Linked DNA regions of Homo sapiens: region 2 is linked to region 1. Evidence: promoter capture Hi-C in 16 types of primary human blood cells and fetal thymus (Javierre and others, 2016). All regions are on one chromosome and are shown on one strand. Each heading gives the region's core, a stretch centred on a gene start or on the middle of the fragment in contact. The rest is flanking DNA. Distances are from core to core; before and after follow the strand shown.

Region 1 (3,006 bases), core at 323-2,822:
TGTCTTTTATATAGAAAACCATATAATATGATGGATATATTGATCCCTACTGCACATCTGCCCCAAATCCTTAATTGAAGAGATTGAGACCCAGAAAAAAAAAAAAAGTAATTCTTCCAAGGTCACATAGAAAGCTAGTAGCAGTGTCAGGACTAGTTACCCAATATTTTCAACTCTGCTGTCACTCTCAATACAAAAATCCTCCATATATCCTGGCATTTCAGGCAGTGGGAAAATCTCTTCTTTTAGGGAGAAAAGAATCCAACAGATACATTATTTCTCCAGGCCTGGGCAACAGAGCAAGACCCTGTATCCAAAACAACAACAAAAACAAAAAGATAAAAAATAGTTTTTAAAATTAAGAAAAAAAAAGAAATGAAATGAGCCTCCTTACCAAAAATGAACAGCACAGGAAAGGTGGACTTCCAGGCTTTCCACTGAGTCCCTTCCTAGCCAGTGTCTCTTCTTCTCTTCATTGTAAGGGTTTTAGAAAGAATTATTTACACTTGCTGACCTCACTGTTTCACTTACCTTTCAGTTTTCAACCCCATTGACTGTTTTCTGCCCCTACAGAAATGGCTTTCACTGTTGTTGTTGTTGTTGTTGTTTTTCCCTTGTAATCCCTCTGTATGCTATTATACCCTTGACATCTGTTTCAAGCAGGGTCCAGTCAGAGAAACAGTAACTACAGGATGCAGCTACCACCCGAGGGCTGAGGGAACTAAAGGAAAGAGATGCCTTTTCTTTTCTTTTCTGAGACAGAGTCTTGCTCTGTCGCCCAGTCGGGAGTGCAGTGGCGCGATCTCGGCTCACCACAGCCTCCCCAGGTTCAAGCGATTATCTTGCCTCAGCCTCCCAAGTAGCTGGGATTATAGGCATGCACCACCACACCTGGCTACTTTTTGTATTTGTAGTAGAGATGGGGTTTCACCATGTTGGCCAGGCTGGTCTCGAACTCCTGACCTCAAGTGATCCACCCACCTTGGCCTCCCAAACTGCTGGGATTACAGGCGTGAGCCACCGTGCCCGGCCAAGAATGAGTTTTCAAAACCCGAGTTCAGAAGAAGGATTCTGAGTGGTTGGTTCTCAGATCTCTGAGGAAGCGGAAGGATGACCCTAGGGGGAGGGCCACCGCATGTTAGAACCCAGCAGGGGGCTGTGACAGACAGGCTGGTGCTCGGAGCTTCATCTCTTTCTGCCGTTTTCCTCTCAGTTTTTGCTCTGGTTATGTCATATTTCTCATTTTCAACACCAACATGAGCCTTTGTACAGACATTCCTCCACCTGGAACCCCATTTCAGCTCATCTACCTGTTGCTTTGTATTTATTCTTCAAAACTCTGCCGTCTTCCCTGACCTTCCGGAGCCGGTGTTTGTGGCGCCTCCTGCTGGTCACTGGGTTCAGGCAGTTTGGAGCTGGGTGGAAGGAACGGGTAGTATATTAAGTCTTGGGCCCTGGACCTTGTTGGCTGTCCTCTCCCTGCTGACCTAAATGACAAAGGGAGGGGTGTCCAGTCAGAGTGTGAGGGCTGTACCCGTGGGCAGCTGAGGGAGTGCGAGCCACAGGCCAGGCACTCTCCTTCTCCCATTAGCTCAGCCGTGGCATCGGACTTGCAGCTTCATTTTGGGCTGCCTTAGCCATGAAGCTCCTTTTGCTGACTTTGACTGTGCTGCTGCTCTTATCCCAGCTGACTCCAGGTAACCTGAACCTCCTTAAGGAAGGGGCAGGGCTTAGAGACTAAGGCCTGGTCAGAGAATCCCAAGGGCTAGAAGGATGGGCTGCAGGTTGTCATCTAGCACCACGTATAGGAGGCAGGAGGCGCCTCACCAGCAGCAGGTGCCAGCTGATAGATGACAACTACAACATCCAGAGCTGCTCTCTCAGCGGCTCCATCCCTCCTCTTCCTGCCCAGCTCCAGGGAGCATGTGGGGGTGGCCTAGTGTGTGAGGAGGAGTGGGAGGGGTGAGCAAGAGAAGCAGGAAAGAGGAGAGGCAGGTATGGCCCTTTTGCAAAATAGTCCCCAGAATGAACGAAGCTTTGTGAAGATCACAGCTACCTTAATGGGAGAGAAAGCTCATTTGTACTTAGCTGTCTCTGTGCCAGACTCTGCGCTGGAAGCTAGGACCACGGAGATAAATGACATGGTGCCAGGGGAACTAACTGGAGGAGACAGTTAAATAGCATTTATAACCCAGGGTGACACGGCTGTGGCAGTGGGAAACCAGGGGGCTGGGTACACATGGTCCAGCCCAGGCTGAGGGAAAGGAGAGTCCTCCTGGAGGGATATCCTGAGTCCTAAAAAGTGAGTCGAAAATAGAAAAGGAAGGAGAGGGGAAAGCAGAAGGGTGTCCCAGGCAGAGAGGTCAGCCTATGCAAAGGTTGGATGCGGGAGAGAGCATGGGAGTGTCGGGGACCTGCATAACATGGAGGGGTGGGTTAGGAGAGAGGCGGGGGTAAAGCTGAGGAAGCATTCAAGCTCCAGGTCTCAGTGGGCCTCAAATGCCAGGTGAGGGACCCATGGGAAGGTTTAAACAGAGAAAGACCCTGGTCAGACCTACCACCCACCAATTCCAGCATGAGCCACCTATCCCTTCCTGCTCATCTGGCAGAAGTTTCCACCCACCCTAAGGCTGTCGGCTAACCTTTCTACAGAGTCAGAAACGTGTGAATTTCCTAAACAAGCTGACCTCCGTCCTTGTGTCTTCCTGAGGCCCTAAAACACCACTCACCTGGAGTAGGGAGGAAAGCCCAGACCCCGGGTTAAAACCTGCCCCATCATTTTCTGACTCTGTGAGCCCCAACAAGAAGCTCAGCTGCTCAGAGTATCAATTTCCTCATTTCTCAAACTGCAATAACATCAAGTGTGTAATAATATCAGGTTGAGGGAACAACATTGAACACACTGAAATTTTGGTCTGCAAAAGAAATATGGCTTCTCTATTTTCTCTAACTCACCAAACTTTCCCAGGAACTTCCATCCTGACTGTGGGAGTTAGTGGTGGGAGG
Region 2 (3,006 bases), core at 213-2,712, 170 kb before region 1:
ATCCAGCAGAGAAGCAACAGGGACTCTGAGGCACAAAAGCTCAAGATGGCAGCATAGAGAAGGAATCAAGGCAGCCAGCTGAATCAGCTCAGAGCCAGGAGGAACTCCGCATTGTTGGGAAAAAGGTAACTGAAAGATACGTATCAGTCCACACTCCCACCAGAAATGCCTGAAGTTCTAACTGCAGAAAAGCTCCTAGACCCTCACATGTCCTGAGCCTAGTCTGGAAAGCTGCCTGGAATCCACGTGACTGCATTTGTTCCAGGGAGAGAATTTGCACAGGGGCCCATCCCTGGAATGCAGGCTGCTATAGTATGGTGCCATTTTGAGAGCAAATACAACAACAGACTATATCCCGCCATGGAGACCAATAGCTCCTGCATCTCCACAACCCTGAGACCTCACCAATATCCACCCACACCCACTCAAAGGGCTGCAGCATCATAGTGCTGGCTAAGCCCAGTGGCACAACCACACTGCCAGCATCTGAGACCACACAACATCCCACACCCCAGGGAACAGATGGTCCAACACAACCGGTATACTGGCTCAAGGACATAGAGAACCAAAGTGTGAGCTCCCCAGAGCCTGAGAGCAACCTTCCTGGACCTGCTGCCACCAACAGCAACCTCACTCCTCTCCAGCAGTGGGGCCATGAAACACCATAAATACCACCCAAGGGCCCAGAGACTTACCTGCCCAACCCACTACAGAAACCACCAGCTCCCAACTACTCCACTCAGGAAATGAAACCAGTCCACTCACCCAACTAGAGATATTGCCAGCACTTGGGTGCCCACCTGGGGGCCCAAGGAGGAACTGCCCAGCCAGCATTTACACTCTGCTTGAGTAACCAAGGACCATCCCACTCAGGGCATTACACTGCCACTGCTGGTGCCTGTGCATCCGACCTGGGGCCCAAAGACTAGCCCACATGAAGCACATAACCATCACCACCAGTGCCTGCACATTCAACATAGGGGCCTATGAACCAGCCCATCCAGCACATCTGAAACTGCCAAAGCCTCACCACAGCTTCCACAAATAACTACACCCTAAGATGCTAAGGAGTTCGCAGACATCACTAATGTTAATGACAGCCAAAGTAATCATATGGAGACCACACTACAGTGTCCACCCAAAATCAAAGCCAAAGCACCCTACCCAACTTACATTATAGATACTTCTACAGGGAAATGTTTTTCCTTACAAAAGTTACTCCATAAAATTGAAAGAAATGTCAGTTACACCATATGTACAGATATCAATGTAAGGACACAAGAAACATGAAAAAGCAAGCAAAGACAACACCTCCAAATGAACAAAATAATTCTTCAGTAATAGACCTCCCCATAAAAAGAAATCTATGAAATGCCTGGAAAGTAATTCAAAATAATGATTGTAAGGAAACACAGAGATACAAGAGAACACAGATAAACATTACAAATCAAGAAAACAATTCACTATCTGAATGAGAAATTCAACAAAGAGATGCATATCATAAAAAGAAGAAGCAAACAGAAATCCTGGAACTGAATAACACAATGAATAAAAGCAAAAATACAATGTAGAGCTTCTAATATAAACTAGATTAAGCAGAAGAATCTTTCTGAACTTGAAAACTGAGCTTTTGAAGTAACCCAGTGAGATGAAAAAAAAAGGAAGAAAAGAAAAAAAGAAAGAAGACATATAAGATACCAAAGCAAAAAAAAAAAAATTCAAATTTTAAAAGTTCCAGAAGAGAGGAAAAGTCAAAGAAAATGTATTTAATGAAATATTAGCTGAAAACTTCCCAATTCTTGCCAGAGATATAGACATCCAGACACAGGAAACTCAACGATCCCTAAACACAGTCAATCCATAAATGTCCTCTCTGAGGCAGATTATAGTCAAATTGTCAAAAGTTAAAGACAAAGAATTCTAAACATAGGAAAAGTGTCAAGTCACATGTAAGAAAATCCTCATTAGCATAACAGCAGATGGCACCAGAGTGGCTCATGCCTGTAATCCCAGCACTTTGGGAGGCTGAGGCAGGTGGATCACTTGAGGTCAGGAGTTCGAGACCAGCCTGGCCAACATGGTGAAACCCCGTTTCTACTAAAAATACAAAAATTAGCCAGGTGTGGTGGTGCACACCTGTAATCCCAGCTACTCGGGAGGCTGAGGCAGGAGAATTGCTTGAACCCGGGTGGTGGGGGTTCCAGTGAGCTGAGACTGTGCCAAACAGTCCGTGGGCGGCCAGAGTCCTGGAGTGCAGTGACCAGGCTGTTGTCTAGCATAAAGGCGGAGCCCAGAAGAAGGGGCGTGGGGTGGAAGAAACCTCCCTCACTCCCCCCGCAATGCGGCATCCGCTGGTCCTGCTGCTGCTCCTCTCTGCCCTGGTGACCTCCTTCACTGCAGCCTCTATCCACGATGCTCATGCCCAAGAGAGCTCCTTGGGTCTTACAGGCCTCCAGAGCCTACTCCAAGGCTTCAGCCGACTTTTCCTGAAAGATGACCTGCTTCGGGGCATAGACAGCTTCTTCTCTGCCCCCATGGACTTCCGGGGCCTCCCTAGGAACTACCAACAAGAGGAGAACGAGGAGCACCAGCTGAGGAACAACACCCTCTCCAGCCACCTCCATATTGACAAGGTGACCGACAATAAGACAGGAGAGGTGCTGATCTCCGAGAAGGTGGTGGCATCCATCCAGCCGGCGGAGGGGAGCTTCGAGGGTAACTGGAAGGTACCCAGGATGGAGTAGGCGGCGGCCCTGGTGTCCATCCGGAAGGCTATGGACAACTTCCATGCAGAGCTCCATCCCCGGGTGGCCTTCTGGATCATGAAGCTGCCACGGTGGAGGTCCCACCACAATGTCCTGGAGGGCGGCCGCTGGCTCAGTGAGAAGCGACACCGCCTGCAGGCCATCCAGGATGGGCTCCACGAGGGGACCCGCGAGGACGTCCTAAAAGAGGGGACCCAGGGCTCCTCCCACTCCGGGCTGTCCTCCGAAAGACCCACTTACT

Evidence for each region. Contacts are between HindIII fragments. The CHiCAGO score rates a contact against its expected background, and 5 or more counts as called.
Region 2: a fragment that was not itself captured here is called in contact with the fragment with the promoter of DEFB123 in region 1 in 1 of 17 cell types (erythroblasts); the score reaches 5.2 in erythroblasts.

Annotation. Positions count from the first base shown.
Region 1 is chr20:31,439,060-31,442,065 of GRCh38, forward strand. It overlaps DEFB123 (defensin beta 123), which reads left to right and starts at 1,573. Exons shown (of 2, transcript NM_153324.4): 1 at 1,573-1,697. The coding sequence starts at 1,640. The HindIII fragment of the contact is 4,618 bases long and covers 1-2,033 here.
Region 2 is chr20:31,271,831-31,274,836 of GRCh38, forward strand. It overlaps the pseudogene DKKL1P1. Among named protein-coding and RNA genes, the nearest start is that of DEFB115, 16 kb to the left of the region's middle. The HindIII fragment of the contact is 3,607 bases long and covers 1-3,006 here.